Linked DNA regions of Homo sapiens: region 2 is linked to region 1. Evidence: promoter capture Hi-C in 16 types of primary human blood cells and fetal thymus (Javierre and others, 2016). All regions are on one chromosome and are shown on one strand. The core of a region is centred on a gene start or on the middle of the fragment in contact, and the rest is flanking DNA. Distances in the headings are between cores, read along the strand shown.

Evidence for each region. The method cuts DNA at HindIII sites, captures the fragments that hold promoters and counts their contacts. A CHiCAGO score of 5 or more calls a contact.
Region 2: a fragment that was not itself captured here is called in contact with the fragment with the promoter of ATP6AP2 in region 1 in 1 of 17 cell types (neutrophils); the score reaches 6.7 in neutrophils.

The regions. Positions count from the first base shown.
Region 1 is chrX:40,578,521-40,584,225 of GRCh38, reverse strand. ATP6AP2 (ATPase H+ transporting accessory protein 2) reads right to left here and starts at 3,256. Exons shown (of 9, transcript NM_005765.3): 1 at 3,124-3,256. The coding sequence starts at 3,160. RefSeq lists a silencer at 2,877-3,186 and enhancers at 3,347-3,556, 3,607-3,756. The HindIII fragment of the contact is 11,326 bases long and covers 1-5,705 here.
Region 2 is chrX:41,111,656-41,117,360 of GRCh38, reverse strand. All of the region lies in intron 1 of USP9X (ubiquitin specific peptidase 9 X-linked), which reads right to left. Among named protein-coding and RNA genes, the nearest start is that of USP9X, 29 kb to the right of the region's middle. RefSeq lists an enhancer at 259-318 and a silencer at 2,579-2,711. The HindIII fragment of the contact is 2,193 bases long and covers 1,623-3,815 here.

The sequences.
Region 1 (5,705 bases), core at 2,007-4,506:
ATGCGCCTGTGGTCCCAGCTACTAGGGAGGCTGAGGTGGGAGAATCGCTTGAGCCTGGGTGGTCGAGGCTGCAGTGAGCTGTGATCACACCAGTGCACTCCAGCCTGGGTGACGGAGTGAGACCCTGTCTCAAAAACAAAAACAAAAAGGATATAAATGGAATTTCTAGTACATTCATCTGGCATCCAAATGGATCACCTAGCATACTCCACTTTGGAGATCTGAGGGCTCCATTCTTGACTCTTACTGCTTTCCTATTCTACATCTCTCCCAGGCTGAGCCCAACTACTCCTAAGGCTGCAAACACCAAAAACACACCCAATTCACCATCTTTCCACACACTTCTCCTGTATTCTATCTTGAAGGATGATACCACCTTCCTTCCACCCAGTGGCTGGAATCAGTCGTCTTTAAATCTTCCTCAGCAACACAGCTAATTAGCCACTGAATTTCATCTTTTTTTCTTATCTCACAAATCCTTTCCCCTCTATGTCCAGGGCACACTCTTCAGGCCCTCTCCAGGTTTGCTAGAATTGGGTGCCTTATGACCCTTGTCATGCCACTCTCTAATCCAGCCTTTCCCATAACTGCTTCAAAATACAGATCTGATCATTCACCCTTCTGCTTAAATGCCTTCTCTCACTGCCCAGAGACTCTGAGGCAAAACCCAAAGCATTAACACCCAAGAAACCTCATCAGCCTTATTTCTGGTATCTCCCCAACTTAATCCTGTACATTTCAGCCCCACCAAACTACTTGCCCCTTTGCTCTCACATCGCCATGCTTTTACACATGCTGTTCTGTTTCAAATACCTTTTCTTCCCACCCCAACTTTTCAACACATTAGCCCTGGGAGGCACCTCCCATGGGAAATTTTCCTCAGCCTCCCCAGTCTGGGCTAAGTGTCCTTCCCTCTAGGAACTCCACTATACTGTGCTATTATCGTCTACGAATGGTGGATGGAATCAATAATAATAAAAAAATGGATCCTATCTCCCTCTTCTACATGACATCACTTCAAATTCCATGTGTTCACCCTTGGCCTTTCTTCTCCAGGCTAAATATCTGAATTTTATCAAATACGCCTCATGATATGGTATTCAAAATCCTAGTTCCCTTCCTCTCTCTCTAGGTCCCTAGTTCTCCCTCTAGTTTGGCAACACTGTTTTAAAGGATTTCTATTTTTGTTTCTGCCTGGAATAGAGAAGTCAGAGCTCTTAAAGATGTTTTCCACTACATCACATTTAGTCATTGTGGAAAATAATAACTGAACCTCATCTGACAAGACTGAGCAATTCAGAAGCTGACAGGATCAGGTTCTTGTTCTGTATGAACTCGGCTATGCTAGTAAGGAAAACATGTTCAAACCATGTGCAGAAGCAATTATTTTATCTCAGACCCAAAACAAAAAAGCCTATACCTCACTGAATCAAAATAATATCAGTCAAAATATTAAAACATGGAATCTCAATAGATGTTCAGTTAAACCACAGGATCAAAGGGAATATTTTTAAAATTTCAAAAACTGAATTAAAATTAATTCCCTCAAAGTATCTCAGTAGATCAGAAAGACCTTTCCAGAGCCAGAAACAGAAGAAAGAAACAAAGAACTCGAAAACGTTTGGGGCATGGATACAACGTAACTATCATTAACACACAAAACCCCCGCACCTCTAGGGACAGAGATCTGCAGATTTCAAGAGCATACTGGTGCAGAATTAAATCGCCATTCCACAAGCAGGACCTCCCAACACCTCACATAGGTTTTTGGTTTGTTTGTATGTTTGTTTTTGCTTCTGAGACAAGGTCTGGCTCTATCGCCCAGGCTGGAGTGCAATGGCGCGATCTCGGCTCACTGCAACCTCCGCCTCCCGGGCTCAAGCGATTCTCGTACCTCAGCCTCCTGAGTAGCTGGGATTACAGGTGTGCCCCAACACACCCGGCTAATTTTTATATTTGCAGTAGAGATGGCGTTTTGCCTTGTTGGCCAGGCTGGTCTCAAACTCCTGACCTCAGGTGATCTGCCTGCTTCGGCCTCCCAAAGTGCCGGGATTACAGGCGTGAACCACCGCGCCCGGCCTCCCATAGGTTTTAAACTGACACACTGAGATCAGAGCACCCATTCCTCCAAGCCGTTCTCAACTTGGCCTCTTGTTCACTACTGTCTGTGCCTCCAGTCTCAGTCCCCATCACTCCCACATTCTCACACAGTAATAGCGTTACTTGTGCAACACAACATATATAATGGAAAAGGCCGATGCGCTGGCACCACCTCATCTGAAATCAAATCCAGCACCCAACCTGTTTAGTGTTGGGTAATTTATTTAGGTTGATCACCCTGCAAAACAAAGATGATGCCCTCTAAGGACTGCTGTCAAATGAAATACATTACCACATGATATGCAGTAAGAGGCCACGTATTAGCTGATTTCTTCACCTCTTGCTGAATGCTTAGGAATCTAGGTTCTACTCAGAAAGCTACCATTTATTGACATGTGACCCTAAAAATGCGACTCACATCCTGTTTCCAAATCCTTAAAATTTGGAACTCTGACAAACTATTGAGAGGTGCTTTGTATTCGCCTTAAGAAATATAAGTCATATAAAAATAATGACTCCATCTCAACTTTTGCATCCGGAAATATACATAAGGGAAGGGAGGGGCAGGGATTTCAGCAATTACTGATGACAACCACTAGAAATGAAGGCACCATACAAATGCAAAAACATCGTGGCAGCCAGTGGCAGCTAAAAAGTCTGCCTTCTCTTCTTCGCAGCGGGCTGCGACTCAATCCCAGTTCACTGAGAAATGCATCTCCGTACTCTGAAGGGCCTTTTCAGGCGCAAGAAGCCGGCCGGACGCGCCGCCCTCAAAGTGGAGGGTGGAGGCAGGCTCAGGGGCCCCCTACGCAGCCCAGCCCCGGCCCCGGCGGCCCGTGAGGCCGCGCCGCCACGGCCGATCCAGAGAAGATGCTGACGGGGACGCGGCTGAGGCGAGGCCGCCGCTGACGGACCGCACTGCGGCACCTGCCTCGCAGCTACTCGCCCGCGGCCGCCCCCGACCCCCAAGCCCCGCGGCGCAGGACCTCCCCAGGCACGTCCTGCCGGCCCCCGGCTCCTCACCCGCCACCAACGCCAGGAGCACGACAAACACAGCCATGGTGCCGCGGCGGCCGCAGCACTGCGGGGCGACACGGAACGGGCCGGCGGGACACGGGCGACAGCCGCAGCGTGAGGAGGTGACGCGCTCGGACTCGTCCAGGCTCCCGGGTCCCGTCCCTTCGTCGCTTCCGCTGGGACAGCTGCCGCTTTCTCCACCAATCACCAGTTACGCCGCGGCCTACGGAAGGGACGTAACCTGGGAAGCGACAGCCTGATAGGCGGGACTTAAAGTAACGGATGGAGAGTTCTACCAATGGTAGGCAGCGATTGAAAAGTCGGGCAGTCCCGCCCCCCGGTCGGTGATGACGGGTCAAGAGGTGGAGCGTAGGGCGGGTAGTCGGAATGGGTGATGGAGCTAGTCGAGGGGTCCCGGAGCCCACGGGGTGAGGGTGCCTCCCGAGTGCAGATCTTTCTGCCAGTCTCGAGCGACGGTCTCCAACCAGGGTGTCTGTCTTTCCTGGTCGTGTGCCTCCGCCCGGCTACGGACGCCAGCTGTGAAAGGCGGGGCTGGTTGGGGTTTCGCTCTAACAAGTATACAGACGCCGAGCACCTACTGGGAAGAAGCCAGGCGCAACGGGGAACCCCTGCCTTCCACATAGTGGTGCCAGATAAAATACAGGGCGCCCAGTTAAATTTGAATTTCATGTAAACAACGATTATTTGTTATTATGTCGCAATTAATTTATGGGACATACTTGTATTAAAAGAAGTATTACTGGTTATCTGAAATTCAAATATAACTGGGTATCCTATATTTTGATTCGCTAAGTCTGGCAACTCTACCTCCAAAGACTTTCCAATCTACAAGGAGTCATGGGACAGAAAGTTAATTAATTACTTAATTTGTCCATTCACTCAGTTTCCAATCTGGGCAAGGTGTTCTATGAGGATGTATGAAGGCTAGACATAGTAATTAGACCAGGCTCCTCCCCTCCCGCAGTTCATAGTCTTTTGCCTATGATGTGAGGCAAGAAGGGACACACTATAGCGTCTGTAGGTAGAAAATGACGCCCCAGCTGATGACCTTGAAAGGTGGAAATGATTTCATATCCAAGGATAGGAGATGGGGAGATTGTTCCAGTGAAAACTGTAGTTAAGGTGGGGAGAAAGCCCCGTCAGGTTAAGCATCAGTAATCAAATAAGAGATTATATGAGAGAGGAGGCACAGAGCTAAAACTTTCAGTTAGGCACATTTATTGAGGATTTTAAATTGTACATAAGAGACCTACACTAAGCCATTGAAGGCGTTTGAGCATGATTTACTGCACAAATGTAAGACAGACTTATTGGCGGGGGGGAGGGGGGGAATGCCTTACTGTTTCTTCAGTTTCCAGTCCCATTTTCTTCTTGGAGTTTCCTGAGGATGAAAAAATGAGAGCGAGTTAAAAACAGTGACCCCAGGAGTTCCCCAGGTAGCAGACCCACCCTAGGAAAACCTTGCCCAACTGAAAACTGAATCAGAAAGACACTCTCGAGGCCAGGTGTGGTGGCTCACACCTGTAATCCCAGCGCTTTGAGAGGCCGAGGTGGGAAGATCCTTTGACACCAGGAGTTGAAAACCAGCCTGGATAACATAGTGAGGCCCTGTCTTTTTATTATTAGAAAATAAAGAAAGCAAAAAAAGAGAAACACTCACTAAATAGTTTGAACTTTCTAGAACACACTATGCTTACCAAAGCCACTCTCAAATTTAGGGAACAGAGTCGATTTCCTCACCTAACGTCAAGAAACAGGAAACTCTCAAACTTGCTTTTCCTCTAGAGGAGAATTTGTACAAATGGGACTTTAGAGAACTCTGAAAGGGAGAAGAGAGATTTTTCCATCAGGCATGTGAAATTATTAGAACCAAAATGTCTAAAGCACCCCTCCAAAACATCCACTCTAATGTGACTGACTCGAAAAAAATTAATCACTTTTTTTGTTGTTGTTGAGACGAAGTTTCCCTCTTGTTGCCCAGGCTGGAGTGCAGTGGTGCGATCTCAGCTCACTGCAACCTCCAACTCCCGAGTTCAAGCAATTCTCCTGCCTCAGCTTCCCAAGTAGTTGGGATTACAGGCGCCAACCACCACGCCCGGCTAATTTTTGTATTTTTAGTAGAGACGGGGTTTCACCATGTTGGCCAGGCTGGTCTCGAACTCCTGACCTCAGGCGATCCACCCACTAAAGCCTCCCAAAGTGCTGAGATTACAGGCGTGAGCCACTGCTCCCGGCGGAAAAAAATTAATCATTTTTAAAAATTCATTTTTAAGCATGATAAATTCACAATCTTTTCACACCAACTAAAATTCTTTGTCCATCTCCCTGCATGTCTTAGAACAGGTTTTGAATCACAGGCCCTGCAAGAACTTATCTAAACCTTATTTAGGGACATAATCAGCTAAAAGTGGAGCAGACCTCCTGCCATTTCATCCAGCTTAAGGAAACAGGGAAAGGAGTGAATGTTTCTGTTCTTAAGACTTCTAGTACATTCTTATTTCTTTGAATTTGAGGAAGATGAAAAAATTTGTAAATAGACTGGAATATAAAATAAGTCCCCACCCCCC
Region 2 (5,705 bases), core at 1,470-3,969, 530 kb before region 1:
ATCTGGCAAAAGTCATGGTATAAATTATTCTAGACAAAAGTATCATGTGGATAACTAAGGGACTATCCCTTTAAACAAAATAACTAAGATAAATGGGAAAAGCGGCAGTGTGAAACTCCTCTCTCAAAACACCTTTCTCTAAGACCACAGAACTAAATCATCTTCTGCTTATGACAGGACACTCAATCAGCAAAAGCCTCAAGCTGCTTGCTATCCCTATCTCTTATATAGTCTCGCCTTTCTAGCTCTTGGTTTCTGTTTCTTCTACCCGACAAGCTGTCCTCATTTCTATATTTCCGGTATTGCTGAGCAGGTATGTCAGGTCTCAGCATAGCATACTCTGCTGCATCTCTCTACTACCACATAAGAATTTGATCCCTTTCCCTCAGCACACTAAGATGCAAGATAAAGAGCAGGAAATAGGCATGGAGCAATTAAAAATAATTTCTGGATTCAAACATAACTCATTCAAAATCCAACTTCTGTCACTTACAATCTGCCTATCTTAAAAAGAAAGTAACAACCTCTCTCATTCTTTTTCCAGGTATTTAAAATTGAGATGCTATTACCCACACAAAAAAAAGAAAGCCATGAGAATTGCTTTAATAAAAGGAGTCTCACAAATAGCAAGCACAGTAATTCTCAAAAAAATGTAAATTTTCTTTTCCCTTTCTACAATGTACTGTGCAGAGTTCCTAAATATTTCAGGAATGAATCTGAAAATATTGCCTTCAGATATAATTTGGAAAGGTTTGAGTGGGAGAAAAAAACTTATCACAGATACAACTAAGTTATCCAAGAATAACACCACTACTTTTCTTAATAAATCCTATTCAATACTCAAGTGGTGGAAACAGCTGGGAATCACACAGCTTTGCCTGATTTCAAGTAGCAGTCTCACAACTCTAAAAGAGCCTGTTTTTTATGTCACAGAGATTTAGGCATACCTAGCAGGGCTAGAACAAGCTCTCTACCAAGTCAAAGCAGCAGTATCCTACACACAACTGAACAACTTAGTAATTATTCAAATCATTCAATATTTGACACAGTAACAATCACTTTCCATAGGCATGCTCAAATACAATGAATCACAGTGTGAAATTTTACCACATGAAGTTTTACGCTTTATTTCATAAAAACAAAATTATTACACAAACAGAAGCATCTTTAATTTTCTCAATGGGAAATACAACCAAAATGGTGATTTGATTGCCTCTACAACACACAACACATTTTCATATTCAAACTTAGCATCCTAACATCTTCCACAATGGGAAAAGCATCACCTTTACCTAGATAAAGGCTGGACTGCATTAAGTAATCTAGTACTCCATAAACAGCAAACCATTTACTTTAAACTTTGCAGAACTGAATTTCTCCAGCAGCTTTCACACAGGGCCTTAATACCAGAGAAATCCCTTTTAGAACAAAGAATTATCCTTTCTTACCCAGTCATTATCCCAACTCTGCTAAAATTTGCCCTATGTTCCAGAATCTCTCTCCTTTTATACAGCACGTTGAAATCCTCTGATTCTACATATGATCCTAGGATACTTAAGATTTTCTTCTCTCAATTTTTCTTTTCATCCAAAAAAAAGGTGTTTAAATAAAAACTCAAAGCTTAGTCATTCAAAAATTGTGTACTGAGCATCTGCAATGGGTCACATATTGTTCTAATCATAGGAGAATATATGGAAGTACACAGTGCATCAAATATCTCTGCTTTTGTGGAACATTACAGACTGGGGATAGAGACAATAAACAAGCAACAGCAACTCCAACCCCCTACCAGATTATTTCCTTTACTGGACATCAAAGTGAAATGAGTTTCTTAGAAAACAATTTGATAGATCATCCTTAAGCTCAAACATGGAAATTATCTTGACTTGGAAATTAATCTTGACTTGTGAATTTTGCCTATTCCGGTTTTATGCACCAACAATCAAAGGGAATTACTTCTCTTCCTTTCAAATTTCTATGTTTAACCGACATCTATAACCCTTGTTTTTCCATTAAAATATTTGACTCACTAGAGACAAGAGACCTAACTGTACAACACAAGCTATACTTAGCCTTCACCAGTAGAGGGCGCCAGACCTCACTACTTTTTTTTTTTTTCTTTTTCTTTTTTTTTTTTTTGGAGACGGAGTCTTGCTCTGTTGCCCAGGCTAGAGTGCAGTGGCACAATCTCGGCTCACTGCAACCTCTGCCTCCTGGTTTCAAGTGATTCTCCTGCCTTAGCCTCCCAAGCAGCTGGGACTACAGGCAGGTGCCACAATGCCGGGCTAATTTTTGTATTTTTAGTAGAGATGGGTTTTCACTATGTTGGCCAGGCTGGTCTAAAACTCCTGACCTCGTGATCCACCCGCCTCGGCCTCTCAAAGTGTTGGGATTACAGGCATAAGCCACTGCGCCCGGCCCATAAATAACTTTTGATTCCTCAGAAACTTAACTACTAACAGCATACTGATGACAAGAAGCCTTACTGATCATAAAGAGGCGACTAACATATTTTGTTACATGTATTATAATACTGTATTCTTACAATAAAGCAAGCTAGAGAAAAAAAGAAACTCAGAAGGGGTGGTGACTCACACACCTGTAATCCCAGCACTTTGGGAGGCTGAGGCGGGCGGATCACTTGAAGTCAGGAGTTTGAGACCGGCCTGGCCAACATGGTAAAACCCCGTCTCTAATAAAAAATGCAAAAAAAATTAGCCAGGTGTGATGGTGTGCACCTTTAATCCCAGCTACTAGGGAGGCTGAGGCAGAGAATCGCTTGAACTCGGGAGGTGGAGGTTGCAGCGAGCTAAGATCGCACCACTGCACTCTAGCCTGGGTGACAGAGTGAGATAGTCTCAAAAAAAAAAAAAAGAAAAGGGAAAAAAAAGGAAAGAAGAAAATCAGAAAATGTATTTATAGTACTGTACTGTTTTTACCAATAAAGTAAAATTACATCATCTGTTTACAAGATCAATCATCTGAAATGGCGGACAACCACAGCTGCAGACCTCAGACCTCAATCTATGGTACCTATCAAGCAATTCAACTTTTTCTTATAAGAAACTTTGCAGAACATTATAACGTCATGACTTTTCTCTGCTTCTTGGGAGCCTGTTCGCCAGCACCACTAGTGACACTTCATGAGTCCCGTAATGTTATTCAAGGTTTATGGTATTGCACTAAACATGATGAAAAATACATGAGAACATGAGAGATCATTTTTTACTATGATAGACCATTTACTGGAGAGATGAACTGCTCATGCAGAGATCAGCGTCACATATTTTCATCGGATACTTACAACAAACTCATCGCAGTAGCAAAAGGAGATGGCTATGAAATTACAGTAGTAGAGAATGTACTAGTTAATTTTATGCAGTTATGACTTAATCCATCTTTACATTTGTTCACATTTCTCTCAACTGCACGTGGCACCACATGTGGTCTATAAAAACGTTTGTGTGCATTAAGTTTTGATAAATGTTAAATTTATAATAGATTTATGTATATTTTATGGTAGTAAATAGATTATTATCTACATGTATTTTACGCGTTCATGACACACCTTTCTTAATTTTTTCAGTATTTCCAAGCTATGCAGTTTATCCTGTTTTTTTCAAATTGTCACAAATCTCCAAAATATTTTCCAATATATTTATTGAAAAAAATCTGCAGTGAAAGTGGACCACACAGTTTGAACCCATGTTGTTCAAGGGTCAACTATATACTGATTTAAAATTATAATGTGAATGTATAAATCAATTGTTTCATGTTTATTACAATCCAGTAAGCAGCATCTTTTCAGCTAAGCTTTCTTTCAAAATGCCCACCATTTTAGAGTACAAAAATACTTATTTTTGGCCAGGCGCGGTGGCTCATGCCTGTAACCCCAGCACTTTGGGAGGCCGAGGCGGGCAGATCACAAATCGGGAGTTGGAGACCATCCTGGCTAACACGGTGAAACCCTGTCTCTACTAAAAATACAAAAAATTAGTCGGGCATGGTGGCAGGTGCCTGAAGTCCCAGCTACTCGGGAGGCTGAGGCAGGAGAATGGTGTGAACCCAGGAGGCAGAGCTTGCAGAGAGCAAGATCGCACCACTACACTCCAGCCCGGGCGACAGAGCGAGACTCCATCTCAAATAAAAACAACAACAAAAAAACGTATTTTTAAGCCAAGTTTAGATCTTTTTGAATTTTTAAATTGAACATGCTGTTGCTATGACAGATTCAATTATGTTTTTAAAGACAAAATTTTAGTGCATTGTTGTCTAGAAGAAAAAGTAACCTACACAGCAGTTTTTCTACCACAGCATGAGAAAGGACACTAAAATAAGGTTATCACAGGTTTGACACACTTCTATGGACACAGAGAAATTGCCAAAAAACAAAAACTGTATAAAGCAGAGCACAAAATAAAAACAGCAAACATTAATAGCTTATATGCTGGACTTCAAGGATTCTTTTGGTGCCTCAATCGAAAACACATGAAATGTGAGTGAAAATAATTATTAAGGGGATAATCTTGACTCTAATATTTTTAGGTAATCTCATTTGCAAACATTACTATTTTAACTAATTATTTAATTGCTTATAATTACTTGTAGCATACACCTCACAATCAATTATATTTAGACACTATGGTCCATAACCACCCTGTGGGCAAGGCGAAACAGGTCTCAGTATTTATGCTAAAGATTTTTTTTCTTTTGTGGACTTGTTGGTTCCATTCCATTCAAAAGTTCTCTGTGGCTCCTTTCCAGTTCTTAGTTTGTATATTATTCTTGAAAAGTTTTAAGTACTTACTTGTGTATCAAGCACAACAGTAGGTGCTTTATTTGTATAATCTCATTTAATCATAATACCTATCTCATACAGCCATCAGTCCAATTTAACAGACATAAATAGAAGCTAAGAGATTAAGTACACTGAGCTTATACAAGATCACAATAATTTCCGTTAAGACTCTAAAACCCTTGGCTCTTCCAACTATACCATGAAGGTTCTCTACAGAATCTGTTGTTCTCTATAAATTCAAACGGGGAGAAAAGGAAACAACAGGGAAAAGGGATTGAGCTTTCTTTTGAAAGCAGTGACTGTCAGGCCTGCATCCATTCCTACAATTGTTTTGTTCTTTCGGTATTAAAAATCATCACTATGAGTTTTACTGAAATGCAAAATATGTCACAGCACTGCTTAAAAATCTTCAAAGACTGGCTGGGCGCAGTGGCTGACGCCTGTAATCCCAGCACTTTGGGAGGCCAAGGCAGGCAGATCACCTGAGGTCGGGAGTTCGAGACCAGCCTGACCAACGTGGAGAAACCCCATCTCTACTAAAAATACAAAATTAGCCGGGCATGGTGGTGCATGCCTGTAGTCCCAGCTACTAGGGAGGCTGAGGCAGGAGAACTGCTTGAACCCGGGACGTGGAGGTTGCAGTGAGCCAAGATTGTGCCACCGCACTCCAGCCTGGGCAACAAGAGTGAAACTCCGTCTCAAAAAAAAAAAAAAAAAATCTTCAAAGACCAGGATGAAGATCAAAATACTTATCTAATGGTCTACAAGGCCCTCAAACACCCAATTCCAGCCTCATCTTGCAGCTAACCCCAGCCAAAGCTTGTTCAAACTCCAGTTCAATTTGCCTTCTTGTTGTTCCTTCACAAAGTGCTCCTTCATGCCACCTCTGAGAGCCTCTGAACAAAGC